Regions from separate parts of the Homo sapiens genome. Here region 2 is linked to region 1. The links are contacts of gene promoters, found by promoter capture Hi-C in human tissues and cell types (Jung and others, 2019). All regions are on one chromosome and are shown on one strand. Each heading gives the region's core, a stretch centred on a gene start or on the middle of the fragment in contact. The rest is flanking DNA. Distances are from core to core; before and after follow the strand shown. Region 1 holds the start of NHLH2 (nescient helix-loop-helix 2). Region 2 holds the start of LINC01649 (long intergenic non-protein coding RNA 1649).

The links. The method cuts DNA at HindIII sites, captures the fragments that hold promoters and counts their contacts. A contact is called where the count stands out against the background at its distance.
Region 2: a contact is called between a fragment that was not itself captured here and the fragment with the promoter of NHLH2 in region 1, in 2 of the 25 tissues and cell types used here (hippocampus and mesendoderm cells).

Annotation. Positions count from the first base shown.
Region 1 is chr1:115,839,119-115,843,227 of GRCh38, reverse strand. NHLH2 (nescient helix-loop-helix 2) reads left to right here and starts at 2,102. Exons shown (of 3, transcript NM_005599.3): 1 at 2,102-2,280; 2 at 2,684-3,012. The HindIII fragment of the contact is 10,676 bases long and covers 1-4,109 here.
Region 2 is chr1:115,916,143-115,920,251 of GRCh38, reverse strand. It overlaps LINC01649 (long intergenic non-protein coding RNA 1649), which reads right to left and starts at 876. Exons shown (of 3, transcript NR_125969.1): 1 at 693-876. It also overlaps the pseudogene LOC101928952. The HindIII fragment of the contact is 3,496 bases long and covers 596-4,091 here.

The DNA of each region.
Region 1 (4,109 bases), core at 853-3,352:
CCAAGAACCAAGAATCACGGTACACAATATGTAGTCTCTAAGGGAGACATGAAAGGAGTGCTTATGGAGCACAGAAGGAGGGGCCATCTGTGCCAGGGAGGTCTTAGAAAAGGCAAAGGGGTGGGGGAGGGGGAGGCTTTGATGGAAGAAAGAATGTGTGTGTGTGAATGTGAATCCATGTCTGTGTCTATGACAGTGTGGCTAGGCATCACTAAGTATGGATCTGAGTGTGTACCTGTTTATACAGGCTTACTTCTGTAAGCATTAATTTTTGTGTATGCTGGCTGCTGGTATAGAATGAGTAAGCCTGAACATAAAAGGGAATTTGTCTGGTATCACACACACCATAGCAGAATTGGACCTGCCCTGATAGGCACACCCTGTCATGACTCCCCAACACCAGGGGAACCAGAGATGCTGGTCCTTTCCCACTGTAGCAGCTGCCCACTCTAGAGCTATGGTGATTAGACCCACCAGTTTTTTTCAATCCATCAGTATGGATGTGTGGTGGTCTAATAGAGCCAGCCAGCTTGTATGATGAAGGGGGAGGAGGTACAGGTGTCTGTGGGTGTGCATCTGTGTGCACACTTCTGGTTGTGTGTGAATGCTTAGCATTGGCTGTTCCTAACTAGAGTGAGAAAACCTCCCTTCTCCCTTCATTGTCACCACCTTGGGGTGTTTATCCACTCACCCATTTCCATTGCCACCTGTATGGGACCGGCTTCCATCTTCACTTTAACGTTCTGGGGATATCTAAAATATACCTCTGTGCTGGGGTTAGGCAGAAGCAAGGCTGGGGAGTGTTGGTGCCCTTATTTGTTGGAGGCACTCCCTCCTTTCCCCGACCCCTGCCCCATTGTGGTCCAGGAATCTCTCAAAGGAGCAAAAATGTGGGCAAAGGCAAATAGTACTTGTGGAAGCCATGAAAAACCCGGAGGGTCACTCCCAGGGGTGGGCTGCTCAATGTGCCTCCCCTGGTGATAAAATCTGCTTTTAGGGCAAAATTAAGGAAGACAAGTGAGGACTCCTCTCTCCACAAATGTTCCCCTAGGAACTGGCGGGGTGGGAGTAAGGCTGTAATGCTCTTTTATTTCTTTAAGCTTGTATGATCAAAACAAGCTAAAATAATCACAAATAATATGTTATTGATATTAACTATGAGTATCTTCATAAAGTGGCAAAATAATTGAACTAGATTTTATTTTTTATTATAAGGTATACAAATTCAGGGCCATGGGATCATGTAAGGCAAAGGCATTATGTACTGGGACACACTGGTAATTTGTGTTTACATCTTGGCACAAGCACTGCCACGCAGTACAATATATTAGCATGTTAAGATGGGCAAGAATGAAGTGCAATAATCAACACATGTAGCATGTCATATTTCAGCTTGAATGAATGAGTGGGTGGAGAGAAAAACAAACATACAGAAAAGTAGAATTATCTCATGTCGTGGTCCGTGAATATGTGGATTCTCTTTCTAGTTCCACCAATGGCTTAATCTATTGAAAGGTTCTTACCATCTATTGATAAGTTAGTCTCATAGCAGATCATTTCTCAAAAATGTTAATATGCTTAATCAAACCTTACTGAAGTATCTTTTAAAATGTAAATGATCTCTAATAAATGTTGGCTGTTGCATGTCTAAATACTTTATTGCAGCATCTTATATAGTATATATTTCCATGTTCTGGACACAAATATTTTTCTAAATATTAAGGGAAAGTGGTGGCTTTGTAATATGCCAGGGGAATTCTTTGATAGTCAATATATTGTTTATTTGTACTTAAATATTTCATCAATAATCTGGAAAAGAGAAATAGCCTGACTACGGCTAGATACTGTTTAGAGGCTAAGATTTCTATCATGAACTGCTTTTCAATTGTTATATTTTATGGCACAGATTCAGTGGGAATCTGATCTGCTAAAATATTTGGGCTGTGAAAACTCCCACACTGTGACAGATGTCAAGTCCAATTAAGTGACTCATGTCCAGGTTTCTGTCCAATAGGATTTCCCATTAAATATCAATTTAGGGGAAAAAAATTCCATCCCCCTTCCTAAGCCTTTATCTCTTCCACCATCTCCAGGCTGAATCAATTGGTACCAGGAGAGCCCAGAAGCCACACACGCATCTCTGCCTCTTTGCTCTGGCTCTCCCACCCTCTTCCCGTCTTTCTCTGCTTCCTTGTCACTGTTACTCCAGGAGACGTTCACTTTTCACCAACCTTTCTCCAAGCATCTCCAAGCCACTGACTATATATATTTTGCTACAAGGTAAAGAGAAGAGGGGCTGGGGACGGGGGATATAGCCAAACCTTGAAAGACTTTGAAACTGGAAAATAGGTGTCTATTTATACAACATACAAGTAAGTGAGGGAAGAGGAAGAGGCAACCTTAGCTCCTAGTTACAGTATTGTGTTCCTGGGAACTGGGGAGATATCAGCTGAACAAAGCCTTATCTCAAAAAAAAAAAAAAAATCACTTCTGAGCAAGATCACATCTCTGTCCTGCACTTCCCAGTTTCTGCTCAGCCGTATTAAGGAAAAGAAAGGCATACGATAGGAGCGGAATCTTATCTTAACCATCTTTCTTATTGATTATTCCGCTATTAGAAAGTGGAGGAATCAGCCCTTTGATGTGATTGTGTTTATCTCTGCATCTCTTTTGTTATTTTTAGAGACCTAGAAGAGGAAAAAAGGCACGAGACTTTTCAACACATCGTTTAAAAAAATCATCAACGAATTTCTTGCAATGTTTGAGAACAATTAAAAGGAAAAAGCGTTTTTTAAAAAATCTATCAACTAAGTGAACAATCATTCATATCGTCTACATCCTGAGATATTATTGTCCCTCGCTGCGGACACCAGCGAGATGACAGCTGCTTTTTCATTTTTGAATGTAATAAATATTTGCTGCTTTTAATATTTTCCGGAATCTCCCCTCGCTATTCCTTGGAATTTTAACTCTAAAGATTGGAGAACAGATTATCAAAAAGGCTTTTGCAAGGTAAGACTCCTTTAAATAATTTTTTTCAGCTTGAAATAAGTTAGATTATTCATACTGTATCTATAGATGCAGTTCATTCCATAAAGAGATAAAACGCATACACGGCATACTATTTATGAATATTTTTAAAGATCTAGAGGAGAATTTAATGTGCTTTGAGGGCAACCCAGGAACTTTTTACCAGAACTACAACTATTTAGTGGCTTATTGTGATTTTCCATTACTCGTCTATTTATTTCTGCCCTTTCAAGCTGACTGTGTAGGTGCAAGTTGTTCTACTCATAAACGTACCCGAGAAAAGCCCGTAGGGAGTCACATGCAGCTCTCTGGGAGCATTTGTTTTTATTTTGCCGTAGAGGACCTGATTTCCTCGCAGGGAAATTAAAGCTGTTTTGGCCCAATTCGCTCCTCTGCAAGTGCGGTGCTGGGAACCGATCACCCATCCCCTTGCTTTTGTTTCTCTAGAAGCAAACGCTCCTATACGTCGCCGACGCGGATTTCTCCCGTGCCGAGCGTCGTGGAGGCTGCCCACGCCGGGGCCCCGAGTTCTCAGCCTGGTCCTCACTCCCGACGCCCAGGGGCGGTGCGTGCAGCCCCTGCAGGGGCCTTTCTCCTCCTGCCGGGCCCTTTCTCGAAGCCCGAATTACCCGGAAGCCCAGCGGTTCTGAGCGGCCCCCTCCCAGAAGGCGCACAGTCCGGGCCAGTGCTCCAGGCGCCCCAGAGAAGCCTGGCCAGGTGGCGTTTCCAAGAGGGCACAGTTAAGTTAGAGGAAGGCTAAGCACCGACATGCCCGGACTTGGCCAGGCCACCCGGGGACAGCTGCAGCCTGCCGAGCTCCGGTTCCGGGAGCGCCCGAACTTTGCCGGCAGAGATGCAGCTCCCGCCGGGACAACACGCGCTGCACCCGCTAGTCCCCGCCTGCCCCGCCCCGGGCCCTTCCCTTCTCTTCCCTTCCCTCTGCATCCTCTCCTCCCTCAGCGGCCCGGCTGCCGGCATTTTCCCGCAAGGTGGTCGCCAGACTGCCGGGCGCATTGTCTGATCCCACGTCGCCGTGTCCCTAGGTCCCCTATGTGTGTGGCTGTCTGCGTGACAGATGG
Region 2 (4,109 bases), core at 1,094-3,593, 77 kb before region 1:
CTATTTGCTATTAGCTTTAAGATAAGGCAAAAAGCTTAAATATAATCCATATAGTATGTATAGATCCATTGGCATTGTAAGAAAAATTCATTGGTATTTATAACCAAAAAATATTTACATTCTTTCCATAAGTTGACATCCTGCTCTATATATTTCAGAACGAAGTTAACATTTACAGAACACCAATTACTGAGCACATTTACTCTTTAAAACAGCCCTATTTATTTCATTCTTACAATTTCATTTAACTTCAGAGGTAGCATTTAGTTTTCATGAAAAACTCTAAAGGTATTTAATATTCTGCCTATTTTTACAAGTGCAGAAATCAAAGCTCACGGGGCTCAGGGTCACAAATGATTAAGTGGTGGGACTGGGATTTAAACCCAAGACACCTCAAGTCAAAAGTAAATTATTTTTCTCTTTTCTGTAGATGCCATTGCCTAGGTCAGTGCTCTGGCCTATCATCTGAATGTTTGTATCCTCCTAAAATGTATATGTTGAAATCCTCACCGCCATAGGTGATGCTGTTAGGAACTGGGGGCCCTTGGGAGGTGACTGAGTCTCGTGAAGGCAGGCCATCATGAATGATCAGTGTCCTTATGAGAGCTGCCCCCCAAATTTCCCTCACCTCTTCCACTATGTGAGGACACAGCAAGAAGGCACCATTTTTGAACAAGGAAGTTAGCCCTTACCAGACACCAAATCTGCTAGCACCTTGATCTTGGGCTTCCCAGACTCCAGAAATGTGAGAAATAACATTTCTATTACTTGTAAGTCACTCAGGTATGGTATTTTGTTACAGCTACCCGAACAGACTAAGATAAGCAGTGATTCTCTTTTTTTTTCCCCCACATTTCAAACCCTAAGAGGGCATCTGAATTCTAGAACCCCATCCTTAACTCCCTTCCATTCTCAACACACATCTACCATTCCACTACCAAAGTCCAAAGAGTATCAGGATCTCTGGGCTATCAAGAAGATGGAGAATATGAAAAAAATCCATGTTAGCTCATTTATTTTAGAAACTTTTCTTTGTGTGTGGTGTGTTTTAAAATCTGAGTAATGGTTTAATAAATCCAGAAGTAGAATAAGTAGAAGCAGAAGTGAATCTAGGATCTTTTCCTCTTGATAAGTTACTCCTTTTGGGGTCTGAAGCTTACATAATTTTAGAGGCTTTTTAAAAGAAAAAGATGACAAGAATATTTATACAAAATTAGGTTTGAGTGTTGATTTAAAGTGAGAAAAGAAATTGCTATCAATTACACATTTTAAAAATATTTAACTGCCACAAGAATCACAAAATTAAAAATATATATATATACATGGTACTTAATTGCCCTGACACCCCTATATAATTATGCCTTCATTTTTTGGCTCTATATATTCTTGGGTCACGACTTCATATAACAAAGATTTTTGTAGTATTTTCTATCAAGAGGGTACATATAAAGATAGATTAGTCTTTCCAGTAGCATGGTTGATCAAATTTGTTTTTCATTAAGAATTTGGAAAAGTTTCTGTGAGCTTCATAACTCATTATTTGTACTATCACATAAATGCTTGGGATCACAGTTTTAGGAAATTTCCATCAAATTTTTGTCATATGTGAACTCTAAGATTTCAGAGTATCTCTAATTTGTTTTCGTTGTTGTTACTGTTCAATGACTAATCTTTTTTTCTCTTTGAATTTAATGAATTTACATAAAAAAATTAGGTAGTCATTTTGCATTTAAGGAATAAAAATCTTTAAAAAAATACAAAGAATGGAAGGATTTTAGCCAAGTTTACACTTCTTTTTGCTATAATTTGTAACAATTCAGCTCATCATAACTTAATGCAATGTGCAAATGCAGCACGTATTACGATCACTTAACTAAATTTAAGGAAGTACATTGTTAATAGTGGCCCTCAGAGGAAATAGATTTATCTTCTTGTAAAAACTCCATGGTATATAAACATTACATAATAATGCTACTTAACCACCTCTTGTCTCAAGAATCATTACCCGGCGAGGTGCGGTGGCTCATGCCTGTAATCCCAGCACTTTGGGAGGCTGAGGCGGGCAGATCACGAGGTCAGGAGTTCGAGACCAGCCTGACCAACATGGTGAAACCCCGTCTCTACTAAAAATACAAAAATTAGCCAAGTGTGGTTGCGGGTGCCTGTAATCCCAGCTACTTGGGAGGTTGAGGCAGGAGAATCACTTGAACCCGGGAGGTGGAGGTTGCAGCCGAGATCCAGCCTGGGCAACAGAGCAAGACTCTGGTCTCAAAAAAGAAAAAAACAAAAACAAAACAAAAAAACCACAAATGCTTTAATAGTTTTAAAGCAAAAGCTGTTAGAGTCTAGATAGCTAAAACTATACTTGTGAGTTCAAGCTTACAGATAAGTAGCTCTTAATAAAATATATTTTGATATATGTAGTTCTTTTTTTTTTTTTTTTTTTTTTTTTGAGACAGTCTCGCCCTGTCACCCAGGCTGGAGTGCAGTGACATGATCTCGGCTCACTGCAAGCTCCGCCTCCTGGGTTCACACCCATTCTCCCGCCTCAGCCTCCCAAGTAGCTGGGACTACGGGCGCCCGCCACCACACCCAGTTAATTTTTTTGTATTTTTAGGAGAGACAGGGTTTCACTGTGTTAGCCAGGATGGCCTCGATCTCCTAACCTTGTGATCCGCCTGCCTCAGCCTTCCAAAGTGCTGGGATTACAGGTGTGAGCCACCGTGCCCAGCAAGTAGTTCTTTTAAGTAGTTCTTAATAAAATATCCTTCCTCCCCATGCCCCTACCCTAAATCTTATATTGTTCTTATAAAACTTTGGTCAAGAGTAAAAATATATCCAGGCAGATGTATATGTCATACAATAGCAAGAACAGTAAAGCCCAACTAATGACTTTAAAATATAAGACAATTATAATGTACTCAAAGGTACATAAAAAAAAGCTTTCATGGGGGTAATATTGAAACAGTCACAAAGGTTAAGAAAATAGTGATGTCACCTGGGCACCGTGGCTCACGCCTGTAATCCCAGCACTTCGGGAGGCTGAGGCCGGCAGATCACCTGAGTTCGGGAGTTTGATACCAGCCTGACCAACATGGAGAAACCCCATCTTTACTAAAAATACAAAATTAGTTGGGCGTGGTGGCACATGCCTGTAATCCCAGCTACTAGGGAGGCTGAGGCAGGAGAATTGCTTGAACCTGGGAGGCAGAGGTTGCAGTGAGCCGAGATTGCACCATTGCACTCCAGCCTGCGTAACAAGAGTGAAACTCCATCTCAAAAAAAAAAAAAAAAAAAAAAAAAAAAAAAAGAAAAGAAAATAGTGATATCAAAGTACAAATGGCTGCAATGTTAAAATAGACAAAAGCTACTATGCAAGAGCTTCTTTTAAAATGAAAAATATAGAACACAACACATGAGTCGGTGATTTTCCTGTTCTACTCATGAATTTTAGGTTGGTTAGGTTGACATTTAGAAGAGTTTCTTATCACATCTGATGGTGTCATTCCAACTTCGTAGGGTGGGTCTTCCCCAAGGAACCTCTAATCTTGGTTATTGTACAATTTCAAAGTAGTGCAATATCGCCATGATGTGCTGGGTCATGAAGATGTATCCTGCGTATCAATGGAAACCAGCGTGGAATTGAGCACCTTCCGCTCCTCGGGCTCCAGCATGTAGAGCATTGTGACCAGCAGGTGTTGGTAGTAGAACCAGGACATCTACTTCCAGGCCCGCACCAGCTCCATCCCTGCCAGGCGCCTCCTGCGATGAGGTGGCATTTCAGTCTCTCAATGACTAATCTTAAATATGCTATGAATTGATGGCATTCACTATTAACTAATTTGTGATCTATGTCCTCCTTCTAATGGTGTATTATGGTTTATATTATCTTTGTCAATATAAACATTCCTGTCTAATTATAAATTTAAATATTTTACAAATATATTCGTATAACTCATTCTTTTTTATTGATTAGATCATTAAATAATATAAAAGCCTATTTATTATTTCTATTGGCAATTTATCTCTTCCTCTTAATGATTTACTAATTTTGAATTTTTTTTTTTGAGACGGAGTCTCACTCTGTCGCCCAGGCTGGAGTGCAATGG